6 separate regions of the Homo sapiens genome follow, and all the other regions are linked to region 3. Evidence: promoter capture Hi-C in 16 types of primary human blood cells and fetal thymus (Javierre and others, 2016). All regions are on one chromosome and are shown on one strand. The core of a region is centred on a gene start or on the middle of the fragment in contact, and the rest is flanking DNA. Distances in the headings are between cores, read along the strand shown. Region 1 overlaps SPECC1L (sperm antigen with calponin homology and coiled-coil domains 1 like). Region 2 overlaps SPECC1L (sperm antigen with calponin homology and coiled-coil domains 1 like). Region 3 holds the start of ADORA2A-AS1 (ADORA2A antisense RNA 1). Region 4 holds the start of GGT5 (gamma-glutamyltransferase 5). Region 5 overlaps SPECC1L (sperm antigen with calponin homology and coiled-coil domains 1 like). Region 6 overlaps SPECC1L (sperm antigen with calponin homology and coiled-coil domains 1 like).

Evidence for each region. Contacts are between HindIII fragments. The CHiCAGO score rates a contact against its expected background, and 5 or more counts as called.
Region 1: a contact is called between a fragment that was not itself captured here and the fragment with the promoter of ADORA2A-AS1 in region 3, in 13 of 17 cell types (endothelial precursors, M1 macrophages, total B cells and 10 more). The highest score is 9.7, in endothelial precursors.
Region 2: a fragment that was not itself captured here is called in contact with the fragment with the promoter of ADORA2A-AS1 in region 3 in 4 of 17 cell types (endothelial precursors, M0 macrophages, M1 macrophages and 1 more); the score reaches 6.2 in endothelial precursors.
Region 4: the fragment with the promoter of GGT5 here is called in contact with the fragment with the promoter of ADORA2A-AS1 in region 3 in 4 of 17 cell types (naive B cells, monocytes, total CD4 T cells and 1 more); the score reaches 6.1 in naive B cells.
Region 5: a contact is called between a fragment that was not itself captured here and the fragment with the promoter of ADORA2A-AS1 in region 3, in 4 of 17 cell types (endothelial precursors, monocytes, naive CD8 T cells and 1 more). The highest score is 5.7, in endothelial precursors.
Region 6: a fragment that was not itself captured here is called in contact with the fragment with the promoter of ADORA2A-AS1 in region 3 in 11 of 17 cell types (endothelial precursors, naive B cells, megakaryocytes and 8 more); the score reaches 8.3 in endothelial precursors.

The regions. Positions count from the first base shown.
Region 1 is chr22:24,303,708-24,306,407 of GRCh38, reverse strand. The region is part of intron 3 of SPECC1L (sperm antigen with calponin homology and coiled-coil domains 1 like); the gene reads right to left. The region is part of intron 3 of SPECC1L-ADORA2A (SPECC1L-ADORA2A readthrough (NMD candidate)); the gene reads right to left. Among named protein-coding and RNA genes, the nearest start is that of SPECC1L, 34 kb to the right of the region's middle. RefSeq lists a silencer at 2,493-2,700. The HindIII fragment of the contact is 599 bases long and covers 1,104-1,702 here.
Region 2 is chr22:24,286,171-24,288,870 of GRCh38, reverse strand. The region is part of intron 2 of SPECC1L (sperm antigen with calponin homology and coiled-coil domains 1 like); the gene reads right to left. All of the region lies in intron 2 of SPECC1L-ADORA2A (SPECC1L-ADORA2A readthrough (NMD candidate)), which reads right to left. Among named protein-coding and RNA genes, the nearest start is that of SPECC1L, 17 kb to the right of the region's middle. The HindIII fragment of the contact is 2,156 bases long and covers 259-2,414 here.
Region 3 is chr22:24,493,627-24,496,326 of GRCh38, reverse strand. It overlaps ADORA2A-AS1 (ADORA2A antisense RNA 1), which reads left to right and starts at 1,253. Exons shown (of 7, transcript NR_028484.3): 1 at 1,253-1,637. UPB1 (beta-ureidopropionase 1) reads right to left here and starts at 995. Exons shown (of 10, transcript NM_016327.3): 1 at 820-995. The coding sequence starts at 923. The HindIII fragment of the contact is 15,084 bases long and covers 312-2,700 here.
Region 4 is chr22:24,243,700-24,246,399 of GRCh38, reverse strand. GGT5 (gamma-glutamyltransferase 5) reads left to right here and starts at 1,318. Exons shown (of 12, transcript NM_004121.5): 1 at 1,318-1,847. The coding sequence starts at 1,675. RefSeq lists enhancers at 1-313, 1,426-1,981, 1,982-2,537. The HindIII fragment of the contact is 5,279 bases long and covers 1-2,700 here.
Region 5 is chr22:24,355,039-24,357,744 of GRCh38, reverse strand. The region is part of intron 11 of SPECC1L (sperm antigen with calponin homology and coiled-coil domains 1 like); the gene reads right to left. The region is part of intron 12 of SPECC1L-ADORA2A (SPECC1L-ADORA2A readthrough (NMD candidate)); the gene reads right to left. Among named protein-coding and RNA genes, the nearest start is that of ADORA2A, 71 kb to the left of the region's middle. The HindIII fragment of the contact is 4,757 bases long and covers 1-2,706 here.
Region 6 is chr22:24,338,719-24,341,418 of GRCh38, reverse strand. All of the region lies in intron 10 of SPECC1L (sperm antigen with calponin homology and coiled-coil domains 1 like), which reads right to left. All of the region lies in intron 10 of SPECC1L-ADORA2A (SPECC1L-ADORA2A readthrough (NMD candidate)), which reads right to left. Among named protein-coding and RNA genes, the nearest start is that of SPECC1L, 69 kb to the right of the region's middle. RefSeq lists an enhancer at 1,751-2,446. The HindIII fragment of the contact is 1,569 bases long and covers 595-2,163 here.

The DNA.
Region 1 (2,700 bases), core at 154-2,653, 190 kb after region 3:
AAGACTCCATCTCTTAAAAAAATTAAAAAATTAAAATTAAAAATTAAAAGGCCAAAGTGATGAATGTTGTATGTATTTTTCCACAATAAAAAAAAAAGTTTGGAAAAAAAAAAGACAACGGAAAAATGGGCAAGTGACTTGAACAGGCACTTCATAGAAGAGGGTCTAAATGTCCACTGAGCACATAAAAAGAATGTATAAGGCCGGGTGCAGTGGCTCATGCCTGTAATTCCAGCACTTTGGGAGGCCGAGGTGGGTGGATGACCTGAGGTCGGGAGTTCAAGACCAGCCTGACCAACATGGAGAAACCCCGTCTCTACTAAAAATACAAAAAATTAGCCAGGCGTGGTGGCACATGCCTGTAATCCCAGCTACTCGGGAGGCTGAGGCAGGAGAATCGCTTGAACCCGGGAGGCGGAGATGGCGCCATTGCACTCCAGCCTGGGCAACAAGAGTGAAACTCCATCTCAAAAAAAAAAAAAAGATTGTATGAAAAGGTATTCAATCTTACTGGTAACGATGCAAATTAATGCCACTGCTCCATTCCTTTATACATCCGTGAGTGCTTAACATGAAAGGAGTAACAATTTAAGTACAGGAGAAAATGTGAAGTAACCAGGAGTGTAAACTGGTAACCACCTTGAGAAATGATTTTCTTCTATCTATAACATTAAAGCTGAACATAGGTATACTCTACGGTCCAGTAATTTCACTCCTCATTCTAGAACCAACACAAATGGGTGCACATGTGTATTAATACACACATATAAGAATGTTCATAACAATAATACTCATAACCACAGAGAAGAAACTCCAAAAGTCTGCCAATAGTAGTAAAAGTCTGCCAATAGCAGAAGAGATGAACAAACTGTGGTATATTCATCCCATGGATTACTAACCAACAATGAAAAGGAAGTGACCGCTGCTAGATGCAACAGTACAGATAAGAAACCAGACACACATAAAAAGAACATAGTGTGTGACTACGTTCCTGTAAAGATCAAAAACTGGCAAAAATCATCTCTGGTGCTAGAAGTTAGAATGGTAGTTACTTTGGGGGAGGACAGGAAGGGCAATGATTAAGCAGAGGCACGGTGGAAGCTTCTGAGGGGCACATATGTTCTGTTTCTTGAACTAGGTGGTGACTGAAGGACATGTTTCATTTTGTGATGATTCACTAAACTCAACACCTGTGTTTTGTGGACTTTGCTGTACGTATGCTTTACTTCAACAAAAAAAGTCAAAACAAAACAAAACACAACTCTGCATTTTCCAACTTACCTTTTACCCTAAGCTACTAGCAGGCTCTCTGCTATTTTTCCCTATTTCTTTTAATTTTTGCTACAAAATTCTGTAAAGGCATGTGCATTCTCACACATAAACACCCCCCATCAGTAAGTCTAAAAACATGAAATGGATGAAGGAATAAATGTTCAGCCTACTCTTTGTAACTGATGCAAAATGCAAATAATTTGGTACAAGCATTCCGGACACAAATAATGAAATACTACAACCAGGTACGTATACTTCTCTAAGTCAAGCCCAAGTTTCACATGCATCTTTCTCTCAAATTTGAAGATTTGTTATCAAATTTTACCTTTCAAGTTTCCGAGGAGGATTGTTCATACAATTAACAAATGTTTACACTGTATGACCACAAATAATCATGGAGAAATATCAATTATAGATTCTAACTGAAGCTTATTAATTCATGTCTGTAATTTTTAGAAAAAATTATCATCAGTATAATGGAAAAGTATATTACTTCAAAAGAACTAATCATGAACACCTGAACAGTAAGTGAACCCTGCAAAGCGTAGGCATGCAGGAAACCCTCTCTACATGGAAAATAATCCTCTCCACTGACTGTGACCAAGGAGAATTAAGCATACAAAGGCTGCAAGCCCAATGACACAGCTCCTGACAGAAGTGGGAATAATGTCTCCAAAACTCACTGTGAGCAGCAGTAGTGTTTTGTATTTACAAAAGCTCCAACCAGCAGTGAAGTGTCCTGGATCAAAAGAGTCCTTCCCCTTAACCCTCAACTACATCTAGCCTCAAACAATACTTGAAATGAGAGGTGAAGAAATGCATATCCTGTATCCTGTCACTACAAGAAGAGAGTCATGAGAATATTGTGCAGTGACAGACACACAGGTGTGGGTGTCCATAAATGAATGGGTGTGTGCACATGCTGTCTCAATAATTAAGCCAAACACTTCATTCATCTGGTTAATCATCAATGCTCCATGACAGTTAAAGGAATTCAAATTGTAGGAAGTATCTAGGTGCCAGAGAAGCACAGGAAAAAAAAAAGTTAGAAAAATAAAATAACACTGTGGGGTCTCAAAGCCCTTCAATGTTTTCCATTTTTTTCCCACTATTTTCTTCTTTCCTTCTCTGTTTTTACTTTAATCTCCATTTAATGACTTTTTCCTTCCCCTCTCTTAAGTGAAGGCAATTGCTCCACTCCAGGAAAAGTGTTGCCAAATAGTTTTACCTCTGTCCTGACCTTCCTGCTACACACACACACACACACACACACACACACACACACACACACCCTATTTAAACTTGTTAATGCAGCAGAGCCAAAGCTATGGACAGCTGGCATGTGCTGGCAAGAGTAAGTGTACAGTTTTGCTTTACAGTGGAAAAGTACTCACTGTTCAAGACCAAATTCCCAGCAACTCCAGATCC
Region 2 (2,700 bases), core at 87-2,586, 210 kb after region 3:
AGGCGGATCACAAGGTCAGGAGTTCAAGACCAGCCTGACCAACATGGTGAAAACCCGTCTCTACTAAAAGTACAAAAATTAGCCAAGTGTGGTGGCAGACACCTGTAATTCCAGCTACTGAGGAAGCTGAGGCAGGAGAATCGCTTGAACCCAGGAGGCAGAAGTTGCAGTGAGCCAAGATCACGCCATTGCACTCCAGCCTGGGCAACAGAGCAAGGATATGTCCAAAAAAAAAAAAAAAAAAAAAAAAAAAAAGCTTAAAATTTTGGATTTGAGAAGTCTTTCTAAACTAAATAAGTTAAAATAGAATTCAAATTCAGTGTAGTAAAAACTAAGTCTTTTTTTCAACAAGCATTTCACTGGTTAGGTTAAAAAGAAATTAATAAAAAATGCTAAGAAGTTCTTTTTCCCTGTGTCTAGTGAGTATAAAGCAGTGGTACTTAATGAGGGGTAGGGGACAATTTTGTACCCTAGGGGATATTTGGCACTTCCTGTACACATTTTTCGTTGTCACAACTGGGTGGGAGGCAAGGTGCTACAGACAGTGAGTGTGTAAGAGGCCAGGAATCCTAGTAAACTCCCTACAACACACTGGACAGCCCCCCACGACAAAGAATTATACAGCCTAAAATATCAATACAGTCAAGGCTGGGAAACCTTGGTATAAGGGGACTGGTTAAACTTGGAAGGAAGGGTTTGTCTTTCTGTAAATCGTTCCGTAAAAAAGGTCTCATGTGTACAGACAATCTGCTGAGAAAGCCACAGTTCTGGCAGCTGGCAGAGCTGAAAGAGAAGGGAAAATCTATGCACAGGGCCCTTGGATTTCCACCCATATTCCCCAGGAAAGGATACAGTTCCAGGAAGGGCTCTCTCTGATCTCCCGGAATGAAATCTGAGATGAACCACAGGGCCTTATTGCTTACCTGTACCTCCTTTTTGTAGTTTCCAGCTGGCCTGGCACAGACTGACAACCCCAAATGGATGGTCGAAATCCACTGTTCTCCAGTCCCTCTCAAACCTCACCGGCAAGAAGGAAAGAAACTAAACCCCGAGGGCCCATTATATTCCAGCGGGGTCCTAGGGATTCCACACTCATTCAGTTCCTTTACATCATAAGAAGTGGGTATTATAATATCAGATCCACTGTAAAAGGTGATCCCGAAGCAAATGGTAGAGCAGGAGTCTGAATAGGGGCACCTCCAACAGCCACATCCACCCCACCACAGCTCCCAGGGGTTTCTTTCTAATCTCAAGGGTGGCCTATACCCTGGGACTATAGGGGGCCTTGGTGTGCTAAATCTTCAGAGACATTTTTAAACGGTCAAGACGCCTCTTGGCGACTGGAAGAAGTTCCTGACCTCGCGGCATTCCCTCCTTCCCATCCCCACTACCACACCAATCCTATGCCAGCCTGTCTGTGTCAGGGAAGAAGTCCAGCTGGACAACTCTGGCAGCCTCCTGTCGCCCTCCCCTGCCAGCAATCCTTCTGTGCCACAGCTGTGTGTCCACACTCTAAAGCACACATCCCACCAGGCCACTCTCCTGTAAAATAATGCCTCACTGTCCCAGGCCAAATACCCCAGCGCCGATACCTGCTTCTTCAAATCCAGGCTCCAACCCATCCCTCCATCTCATTTCCATTTTACGTGCACACATAGTCACACACTCTCACATACCCACACTTTGGCTCCTACTGTTCCTACCCCTGAAAACCCCTTACCACTTTCCTCCCTGAGAAATAACTGCTCGTGCATCACTTCAGGACTCAGCTCCACTGCCGTGTCCTTAGTGATACCTTCCCTTGTCTCTAGTTGGTTGGCCCCCCATCCCTCTTACCTTTCTGGCCACAGCACTCACCTAAGTGTCTTTTATCCAGACAACATTTAGGGTATACTTAGACCAAAAAAGTCATCACTATTTATCTGAAATTCACATTTACTTATTTTTAATTTTCATTTTTTTGGAGACAGGGTCTCGCTTTGTAGCCCAGGCTGGAGTGCAGTGGCGCGATCTCAGCTCACTGTAACCTCTGCCTGCAGGGTTCAAATGATTCTTCTGCCTCAGCCTCTTACTTGAAAAACAGACAAAAGCAAAGCTATGATGTGAATAGCCTGAATTACTGCAAAAAGTACATGAATGTCAGAAGTAAATCCTAACTCTTACTAGATAGGTCAGTTAATCAGTGACACAGTTCACGGCCTGTTATTAAGATATCCTATAACTGAGTCTAGAACTTTACTCACTTCTTAGTGGTAGGACAAAGATATAAGACAGAAAAAGAGGAAAGCAGTAAAAAGTACTTCCTTTCAAATTCAAAATGTCATGGTCCATACTTCCTTGTTAAAATGCCGAAACACACCATATGACTCAATTATTAATACAATAATTTTGCTGTTACCAACTTAGGATAAGCTTCACCTATGTCTTTATCTCAGGAGCAATGTATTGCAAGTTCAAGCAATAAAGTGTAATTACATGCGAGAATGTCAATATAACATAACCAATCAGGTACTAAAAAAACAGAATATGTAAAATAACTATGATGTTTCTTCCCAATATTTCATTCTCATTTTTAAAAAGTAAACTTTCAGAACAGTACTGTAAGACATAAGCAAACTTTGACTTTCAGTAAAAGGTTACTACTAACAGCAAGTGTCAAGAATAGACTACCATGCAGATTTCACTGCAGCTTACCCCCAC
Region 3 (2,700 bases), core at 4-2,503:
AGATTTTGGCTCACTGCAGCCTCGACCTCCCAAGCTCAAGTGATCCTCCCGCCTCAGCCTGCCATGTAGCTAGGACTACAGATGCATGCTACCATGCTTGGCTATTTTTTTAAATGCTTTATAGAGATGGGTGTCTCACTATGTTGCCCAGGCCGGTCTCGAACTCCTGAGTTCAAGCAATCTTCCAGCCCTGGCCTCCCAAAGTGCTGAGATTACAGGTGTGAGCCCGGCCAGGAAGTGTCTTTTTCAGCTTTGTGGACACAGTGTCCAGCAGTATACAGCCCTCAGAAAGTCCTGGTGATGCACAAGCTTGCAGGGAGTGGAAAAACCAGCGCCCATGGCTTGCCAGTGGGAAAGGTTCCCTCGCCAACTAAATGCAGACAGCCTCTATTTCCAAGGGTCAGCCAGAGGTCGGGTCACCGCAAGAAGGATGGTCTGGGGCCGGACAATCAGTACACCTGCTGGGTGCTCTGGTTGGAGACAGTGATCCAGCCAGACATCCAGAAGACAAGCCCGGCTCCGGGGAGGAGGGTTGGGATGGCCACAGAGAAAGCCCTGGAGAGTAAAATCCCGTCCTTTTCCTTCCGGTTCTGGGCAACGTGGGGGAGAAGAGATTTGTAAAGGTCACGCCAGGATTCTGCAACCCCCAAGGACCCCGGGGCCGTCCCATCAAGACCTACTATGGTCTCTGCCCGCCAACTCAGGACTTCTCACCGCCTCCCCTGAGCCCTTCAGACCCTGAGGCCCTCCCTGCCTGCTCCCCCAGACCCACACTCTGTGGCCCCAAGACCCCATTAGCTTAGCCTCTTGGCTGCGGACCTGAGTTCCTTGCCATAGAGAACGCGCTTCACTTCCTGCAAGTCGGGGAGCGGCAGGTGCTTCTCCAAGCATTCCTCCAGCGACTTCCACTCAGCGCCCGCCATGGCCACGGTCCGCCAGTGCTTGTGTCCGCGCACGAACTGCCTGCCCTTTGCCCGCAGTGGGAGGAGGTGCCCAGGCCCGGTCAGGCGCCCTTGCCTTTATCTCTTACTCTCGCTCCCAGACAGCTCAAGTGAGGACACGCCACTTCCTCGCGCAGCCAATCCGCCTTCCAGGGCTTCGCGGGTGGGACCGCCCCTGGCCTTTAGCGCTCCTTCGGCACGTGCCAGGACACGTTCCTCTTGCCGCCTCCGCAGCACACGGCCAATCAGCCTCCAGGGCCTCACGTGGGGAGGGGGCGAAAGGATCCGGCGCTTGCCCTTCGCCCCTTGCCCTTCGCCTCTCGGTTAGCAAGCGATGAGGCACGCCCCTCCACAGGCGGGACTGCGCGGAGTCGTCGCGCCTCGGCTGCGAGTCAGGACTGAGGCTGTCCCCCTCCCGCCTCCCTCAGGGGCCCTGGCGCGGGTGCCTCCAGGTTCCACCCCTCACCTGCCCCTTGGTGTCGGGCCGGGACCCTGGAGAGGTCGTGAGGGAGTCCTGGGCGCGGGCTCCGGGAGGCTGCGGCGCGGGTCTGAGGTAAACGGCCCGGCCGCTGCGGGCCCTTGCGGGGGCTGGTTCCAGCAGCAACCGCCGGGCAGGGCCCCTCCCGACCGCGACCTCCTGTCCGCACCGTAGGGCAGCCGGCCGGGCCAGCCTCCCTCACAGGACTACCGAGGAAGGTAAGGGAAGAGTTTCAGTGTCCCACGGGCACGCGGCGGCTGCACCTCTGTCGTCCGGAGCCTTTATGTCTGGGGAGTTTTAACCCCCGAGGGGCCAGGCTCGGAGTCCATGCCGCTACCTGGGTCGCGCGTTCCCACCCCCGGCTTTGGGGCCGCTGGAGCCGAAGGTCAGTTGCTCGCCTGCGGTTCCGTGCGCCTCGGTGGAGCTAATATTGTAAAATGCGGGGTCCCCGGGTGAGGGCGCGCCCCCTGCACCCTAGGGCCCCTTTTCAGCCCTGCCCTCTGCCGCGTGTGTGCAAATATGGGCACTTTCCTGCGGTAGGGTGCGCTTTAAACTGTCACTGAGATGGTAGGAGTGAGAGCCCCATTTGCTGTTACCGCGAATCCAGAGGGTGCCATCCCTTCAGGAGCAAAGAAGCGTCCTCTTTGGGGTCCTATTGAGAATTAGGGCAGTAAGGCCCGCTTACTTCGGCGGGCAGCCGGGTGAAGGAACCAGTCTGTAGAAATCCTATTCAGCCACTTGTAAACCTTGTGACCCCAGGAAAGTTTAACTTAGTCGCTGGAGGCTTCTGTTGCTTTATCTGTAAAATAGGAATGCAAAGATTACGCTGCGGGGTTGTTTAAAAGTCAGAAAAGGCCAGCACGGTGGCTCATGCCTGTAAACCCAGCACTTTGGGAGGCCTAGAAAGGGGTATTGTTTGAGGCCAGGAACTCCAGACCAGCCTGGGTAACACAGCAAGACCCTGTATCTACAAAATAATGTTTTACAAATTAGCCTATCATGGTGGTGCGCACCTGCTTCTTGGGAGGCAGAGGTGAGAGGATCGCTTGAGCCCAGGAGTTCGAGGCTCCCTAGCTATGATCTTAACACTGCACTTCAGCCTGGGCAACAGAGTGAGACGCAATCTCAAAGAAAAAAAAAAAAGAGGCAAGTAAAATGAGCACAAAGGGAGCTAATTTATATCTAGAATCAGCTACTAACATTAAAAATATTATACTTCAGGTATTTTGTTTCAGCTGCTAATTCACAAGTTTTGTTCCTTGTTTTGATAAATGTTAGCTG
Region 4 (2,700 bases), core at 69-2,568, 250 kb after region 3:
CTGCAGCGGGTGGGTGGGTGGGCTGGCCTAAGCCCAGGAATGCACTTCAGCTCCTGGTTGAGCAATGTCACTGAGGCTTGGGAGTCGGGTGGGGGCGGGAGGAGGCATCCACAGGCCCCCCACCGCGAGAGGCAGCCGTGGGAACAGCCTGCCTCTAAACAATCATTCCAGTCCAGGCTGACCAGGGGCTCTGGCTGGACATAGGGGCCTGGCAGGCTGTGTGGCCTGTAAGGACACAGTCTGTCTCTGTGCCTCAGTTTCTCTGCTGCCCAGATGGGGGGGCCCGGCTTCCAGGTGTAGACATCTGGAGCAGGCAGTGTTCAGCTGGGGAGGAAGCGGGGAGGACTGTGGGGGCCACGTGGGAAGAAGTCCAGCCCACATCACCTGCACCCCTGCTGAGCCTGGTCAACAGAGCCCCTCAGTGGGTCCTCACTCTCCTGGCTGCCTCCCATTTAGGCACCCTGAGGCCTGGGGAGAACAGAGCCAGGCCAGTGTCCCTAGAGAGGCTGCGCTGCCAGCACAGTAATAGCGGATTTGGATTCAGGGAAGCAGACCCGCAGCTAGGGTGGGAAAGAGCTACAGGCAGGGCGTGGCCTCCACACAGCCTCCCTCCCTGGAGGTCCATGCTGCATTTCCAGGACAGCAAGTCCTGGACAAATGGTCCCGGATGCCAAGGGCTAGAGGCATGGTCTGTCTGCATTCCCCACATGGGCGTCTTGTAGTCACCAGCATTTGATGCTGTCAAGTCCCCCTGTCCTCTGTGCAGACTGGGAAGCCCTTGGCCACCCTGGGGAGTTGTGGGACCCAGGCCAGGCTGCAGAAGCATAAGGACTTGAACCCAAGTTTTAAGTGACACCACCTTGTGTCCCCCTCCCTCTGCCTCTGTTCAGCTCCACCTTGATGCTGACTAGGCTGGGCCATGAGGAGAGGGTTAGGGGATAGAGATGGGAGCTGGGGAGCAGGGCTCCACTCTGGGAGGGGGGCAGCCTTGCCGGATCCAGGGGAGAGAGTTGAGCGGCCCCAGCTCTGCTTTCCCAGAGCTGCCGGGAACCCGGGGAATGGTGTGGAGGTTCCAGGGAGCCCTGCCCCTACCTGGCAACCGCAGTGCAGCAGGCACCAAGTTCTCCTGCACATTGCGACAGTGTGACCCTGGGCTCTGGCGGGCGGTAGGTGGGGCCTTTGGACCTACTAGCAGTGAGGGAGTTAACACAGCAGCTGACTCCTCTAGGCAAGGAAAACTCCCCTCAGACGCTTTGCTGCCTGGCCTCCTGCCAGCAACAAGCAGGAGCTGAAAACCAGAAGTTGAGGCGTGAGTTTGGCCACTCCGTAGTGTGCACTTGGTGAGGGCAGCAGCTCGCCACAGCTGCCAGCCATCTGTCCATTCACCCATCTGTCCATCTGGCAGCCCGCTGTTCAGACCTGTCTGTCTGTCCGCCCATCTGTAAGCCCATCTCTGTCCCATTGTCTATCTGACCATCTTTCTCTTACTGTCCTCTTTGTCTAGCTATCTGGCCTATCTGTCGATCCATCTTCGTGTCTGTCTTCAGCCCCCACCTGTTTGTCCATCTGTCCAATTACCTGTGACTCTGTGCATCTTCTTGTCCATTCATCTGCCCACCCATCCGTCCCTCCGTCTGCCCACCAGCCGCCCCTCTCCTCCTGGGCTGCAGAGCCATGGCCCGGGGCTACGGGGCCACGGTCAGCCTAGTCCTGCTGGGTCTGGGGCTGGCGCTGGCTGTCATTGTGCTGGCTGTGGTCCTCTCTCGACACCAGGCCCCATGTGGCCCCCAGGCCTTTGCCCACGCTGCTGTTGCCGCCGACTCCAAGGTCTGCTCGGATATTGGACGGTGAGTGAGACGTGGGAGGAAGCTGGGTGGCCCTTGGCAGCCAGCCCCTCCTGGAGAAGGCGTGTGTGTGTGTGTGTGTGTGAGTGAATGTATGTGTGGGTGTGTGTGTGAGTGTCTGGGTATGTGTGATTGCATGCATGTGTGGGTGTGTGTGAGTGTATGTGAGTGTGAGTGTGGGGAGTGTGGGTGTGTGTGAATGTGTGTGATTGTGTGTGGGTATGTGTATGTGTGGGTGGGTGTGTGTGTGTGTGTGTGTGCACGTGCACTGGCCCAGGAAGCAGGAGCCGTGTGTGTGTGGGCTTCAGCACCTGCAGGTCTTGGGCGCAAGGAGGCAGCCTCAGGGCCCTTGCACAGAACAGGTGGCAGGGTGTGCTCGTGGGGCAGATGGGGACTTGGGGACAATGGTGGTGTGTGAGTCCACGCCTGGCTCCAGGATTCAGGAGGCCCATTTGCATATCCCAGGTGGGAACCTGTCTGGCCCCGCCTGACCCTGCTGGCCGGTGCAGGCCCCTTCAGTGAGGCCAATTCTCCAAGGCTGCGGTCTTCTCCCAGGGTCATGGGTGAAGGGGTTTGGAGGCTCCCTGCGTGGGTACTGGCCTGCTGGGGTACACACAATGCTGCCATAGCCAGTCTGCCCCAACACCCAGCCTGGGGCCACATCTCGGGTCTCTCAGTCCTGAGGAGCCCGGTGCCCCACCCCTCACATCCTCTCTCCCTGAGTCAGGGCCTGGGTCTCGTGAGCTGAGTGACTGATACTTGGTGTCCTGGATGAGGGCGTGGTGGAGAGGGGCCACAGCGGGTGTTTCCTGACCCTCTTCCAGGAAGCCCAGCCCAAGGGAGGCCTCCGCTGCTG
Region 5 (2,706 bases), core at 101-2,600, 140 kb after region 3:
TTTACTGGAGAAACTGGAAGCCTGTTCTGCCCTGAGGGTAATCACAGCAACAATAAACCTCAAACCCAGCCCAGCTCCTGAGCAGATTAACTCAAACTCCCACATTTAAAGACCTAAGTAGAAGAAAAAAGGTGTCCATTTCAAGGCATAAAATCAACTACTATCCATGTAAGATGTCTAGCTTTCAATAAAGAATTGTAAAATATACAAAAAGCCAAGAAAAAGCCAACATACCCAGCTCACTACACCAGAACACAAAGTAATCAATAAAACCAAATGGTACGGATGTTGGAACTATCTATAAAGCATTTAAAATAACTATGATTAATATATCATTTTATATTTTTATAGAGATGAAGTCTCACTATGTTGCTCAGGCTAGTCTTAACTTCTTGGCTCAAGCAATCTTCTTGCCTTGGCCTCCCTGAGTGCTGGGATTACAGGTGTGAGCCAGTTTCCAGCCTCAGCCTTAAAAAGAAATTGTTTCATGCCACAAAATGGATGAACCTTGAAAACATGATATTAAGTGAAACAAGGTCTCTAAGGGAAAAGGCAGACAATATGCAAGATTGGCTAGGATTTCCTACTTGATTTTCTCTTATAGCTTCCATCTCTCTGCTGAAATTAGACAAATAAAACTGTGAAAACTGTATCTCTGATTTTCAACTGTGGGCAAATTTGCCCCCCCAGGGGATTATTAGAGTATCACCCCCATTCCCCCAGTTGTGACAACCAAAAATTAGAGGCATTTTTTGGTTGTCATAACTGGGGAGATGGGGGTGATACTGGGACTCTGGTGGGTAGAGAGCAGGGATACTGCTAAACTTCCTGTAATGCATAAAACAATCCCCCACAACAGTTATGTGGACGCCAATAAAGGCAAGGCTGACAAACCCTAACCTAAGGCAACCACTGAAAGAATTTAATGGATACAAATAATAAGTCAGTAGGAGAGATAAAACAAAGTAATAACAAATGGTCAATGGACCCAAGAGAAGGCAGAAAAAGGAAAAAGAAGCAGAATAGATGGGTCAAATACAAAACACGACAAGGTGGTAGATTTTAATCTAACCATAATAATAATCATATTAAACGAGAATGGTCTAAATCCACCAATTAAAAGACAAAATGTCAGAATGAATAAAAAAGACTGAACTATATACCGTCTACAAGAAACTTACTTTAAATCTAAAGACATAGATAAATTAAAAGGATGGAAAAAAATATACCATGCAAGCACTAACAGAAGGTTGGAGTAGGTACATCAATATCAGAAAAGAAAGACTTCAGAACAAGGGACATTATCAGAGATTTAAAAAATATAATAATAATAATAAAGGGGCTAGTTCTCTAAGAAGACATAACACATTCCCAAATGGGTATGCATCTACCAACAGAACTTTAAGATACATGAGGTAAAACCTGATAGAACTAAAAGGAGAAATAGAAATCCACAACTAGACTTTCAGAGTTCAAGACTATTCTCTCAGTAATTCCTAGAAACGAGCAGACAGAAATGAGTAAATACAGAAGACCCAGACTTGAACAATACAACCAACTAGATCTAACTGATATTTATAAAACACTCTGCCCAATAACAGCAAAATAAAAACATGCTGCCAAGTGAGAGAAGCCAGACTTAAAAAAAAAGCTGTATGCTGTATGATTTGATTTATATGACAGTCTAGAAAAGGTACAACTGTAGGGATGAAAAACATATCAGTGGTTGCTAGGGAATGGGGTGTATGGTAGGGGTTGACTACAAAGGGGCAGCATGAAGGAATTTTGGGGGTGATGGAACTCTTGTGTACAGAACTGTGTAACTATGATGACAGACAAATGGCTATGTGTTTGTCAAAACCCACAAAACTGTATACCAGATAGTGTAAATTTTACTGTATGTAAATTAAAAAAAAAACAGAACGGGGGGAGGGAGGGAGAGAAGGGGAGGAGAACAGAATGCAGACTATGACAAATTAATCTGACTGCATTACGAAACCATGACAGACCAACTGAAGTGAGTAGGGAAAAAGGAACTGGCTTAAGTAACTTTGTATATGTATAGTAAGGTTGAACAAATACATAAATATATTGTAGATAATGAGAGCCAAGTTTCTCACCCCCAAAAGAAAGAAGTTATAAGTAAGGGAAGGGAAAATTCTGGAATGAACCCATTGGTGATGGCTTGGAGTCAGGTATGAGTATAAACTTACAGTTTTTGATAGACAGGCAGACAGACAGACAAATAAGATAGTTAGATAGGTAGGTAGGTAGGTAGGTGGGTGGGTGGATAGGTAGGTAGACAGACAGACAGACAGGATAGTGTATACACATGAGTTGGTACATATACATACAATTTCCCTAGTTCTATCCAGAGAGGGACTAAAGGCTGTGAAACCCCAGTAGCAATGAGCACATTTAGCACCTGGATCTTGGTTTCCTTTTTTTTTTTTTTTTTTTTTTGAGATGGAGTCTCACTCTGTTGCCAAGCTGGAGTGCAGTGGCACGATCCTGGCTCATTGCAACCTCTGCCTCCCAGGTTCAAGTAATTCTCATGCCTCAGCCTCCTGAGTACCTGGGACTACAGGTGCACACCACCACGCTCAGCTAATTAATTTTTGTATTTTTAGTAGAGACAGGGTTTCACCATGTTTGCCAGGATGGTCTGGATCTCTTGACCTCCTGATCCGCCCACCTCGGCCTCCC
Region 6 (2,700 bases), core at 130-2,629, 160 kb after region 3:
CAGCGGCTGGTGGGAACTCAAATGATTTCCTGCCCTAGGTGAGCTACCAGAAGTGTTTGTGTGATAGCTCCCTGTTCCTGGAAATTGTTCCTGGAAAATTATTCTTGCGGGGCTGTTCCTGGAAAATTATCCTTGTGGGGTTTCACCCAATGCAGGTGCAGGTTGGTATTCAGGAAAAGACTCAAAGGGATGCCTACGCAGATTTCTATACTCCTTTCTCTATGCAGCTCCCTCCTCCCAGTATCTGCCCTGCAAATTCGAGCAGTCGCCTTCTCCTTGAATGTTGATTTGTGTCTACTCAGATCCAATTGGTTTTCTCTTCCCTGCTCCATGTAGGTTCATCTTCCCTGCACCACCACCTGGAAATTGCCTCCAGGAAAAGACTGTGGGCCACAGTAGGACTTACCTCATTTTAAAATTTTTGTTCAGGGATCACAGTTACGTACAATGTCTGAAAATAATTGTTTCTTATATTTTGTCCATCTTTCTATTAATCGTTGTTTGTGATGGCAGAATAATCCAGCCTGTTACTCCCACATAGCTAGAAGTAGAATTCCTACCCAGGGAGTTTTGAAAAACTAACAATCCCAAGCTTAGGCCCCAGTCCCCAGAGATTATGGTTTACCAGGATGAGGTCTGGGAATTTTACCTGTTTAAAAACTCTCCACATGATTTTTATATACGATTAGGTTTGAGACGCACTGTACTAACTAATCATGTACTAAAAAGCTACTGAATGTAGCTCATAAGTATTAGTTTTTTGCAACTTGTAGAAATATTTTTCACCTCCTATCTTTACAAAGATTTACAAAGTGATGCCTCATACATTAAACGTCAACTGATAAACACCACTTAAAGTTCATCTTATTTGAAGTTTATTACATTTGGCATCTTTATTTTGCTTTTATCTATATTTTCAGAATTTTAGATGAAGTTTGATTAATAGAGAGCACATAAAAAAAGCATTAAATCAGCTGCGCACAGTGGCTCACGCCTGTAATCCCAGCACTTTGGAAGGCTGAAGAGGGCAGATTGCTTGAGGTCAGGAATTTGAGACCAGCTTGGCCAACGTGGTTAAAACCGTCTCTACTAAAAATACAAAAATTAGCTGGGTGTGGTGGTGCACACCTGTAATCCTGGCTACTTGGAGGCTGAGGCATGAGAATCACTTGAACCCAGGAGGTGGAGGTTGCAGTGAGCCGAAATCATGCCATTTCATTCCAGCCTGGGCAACAGAGTGAGACTCCGTCTCAAAAAAAAAAAAAAAAAAAAAAAAAAGGTCATTAAATTGGTGGAACAGTATTCCCTTCCCTTCTTTTTAAATTACGACATAATGTCAGGCGTGGTAGCTCATGTCTGTAATCCCAGCACTTTGGGAGGACCAGGCAGGTGGATTACCTGAGCTCAGGAGCTCAAGACCAGCCTGGGCAACGTGGCAGAACCCTGTCTTTACCAAAAACACAGAAAACAGCCAGGCATGGTGGTGCACGCCTGTGGTCCCAGCTACTTGGGAGGCTGAGGTGGGAGGACTGGTTGGGCCTGGGAGGCAGAGGTTGTGCAGTGAGCCGAGATCATGCAACTACACTCCAATCTGGGTGACAGAGGGAGACCCCGTTTCGGGGTAAAAAAAAAAGGACATAACATCTTGTATATACATGCAAATGCAAAGCCACGAACTCACAATATAAATGCGGAGGGAGCACACTAGTAAACACAGCACAAATGTCTCAACTCGAAAATGCTCCCCAACACCATTATTTTAGGGAAGAGGTGCAGCCAGGGCTACCCTTTATCACAGGATAATGGGGTTTAGGCAATGTTTCCTTTGGCTACTCTCACCTATGTGGAAATACTCCGCCTCAACTATACTGTCCAAAAGCGGCTGAATAAAATGCACAATGAGCGGCCTCTTGAGCACTACTGAATAGCCCTCTGCCCCGCTTCTCATCTGCATTCCACAATGGCACGGAGGAGCAACTTTTAAAACTTGTTTCTAATGTATCAATAATGACCTGTGCCGGACCTGTTACAAAACAGCCCTCATGAATCATGCTTCTCTGAATTCATGCCTTGTGCACCCCTTCCACTCTGAATCGCAGCTGCCCTGTGACTTGCTTGGATTAAAATAGCAGGACAGAAGTGTCACTGTCCAAGTTCCAAGCTTAGGTCTTCAGAGGCTTTGCTAACTTTCATTTTCAGTCTCTTGGAGCTGGAGATAACCATGCTGTGAAGGAGCCTGAGAAGACAAATCACATGAAGAAAGCAGCCCAGGAATCCTGCTGAGCCCAGGCCCCATCCCACCTTCTCTGTGAATTCAACTGCAGGAATGAGCCCAGGAAAGCCAGCAAAGAATTGCCTAGTCAACTCAGAGAAATGTGAAAACTAACAAAACTGTTCTTTCAAGCCACTAAGTTCTGAAGTGATTTGCTATGCAGTAAAGGCTGAGACATGGCAACCACATATTCTACTCAAGAGACACCTTTGTGTCTTAGTGTAGTGACTAAAGTCACTGAATCCAGACAGCCTAACTCTGAACCCCTACTCTACCACTTAATTGCATGAACCTCGGCAAGTTACTTAACCTTTCTGGGCCTCAGTAACCACATGTGAAAAATACAGATAAGAACAGTACCTAATACCCAAGAGTTGTAAGGATTAAATGAGTTAACATTATAAAGTATTCAGAACAGTGTAGAACAC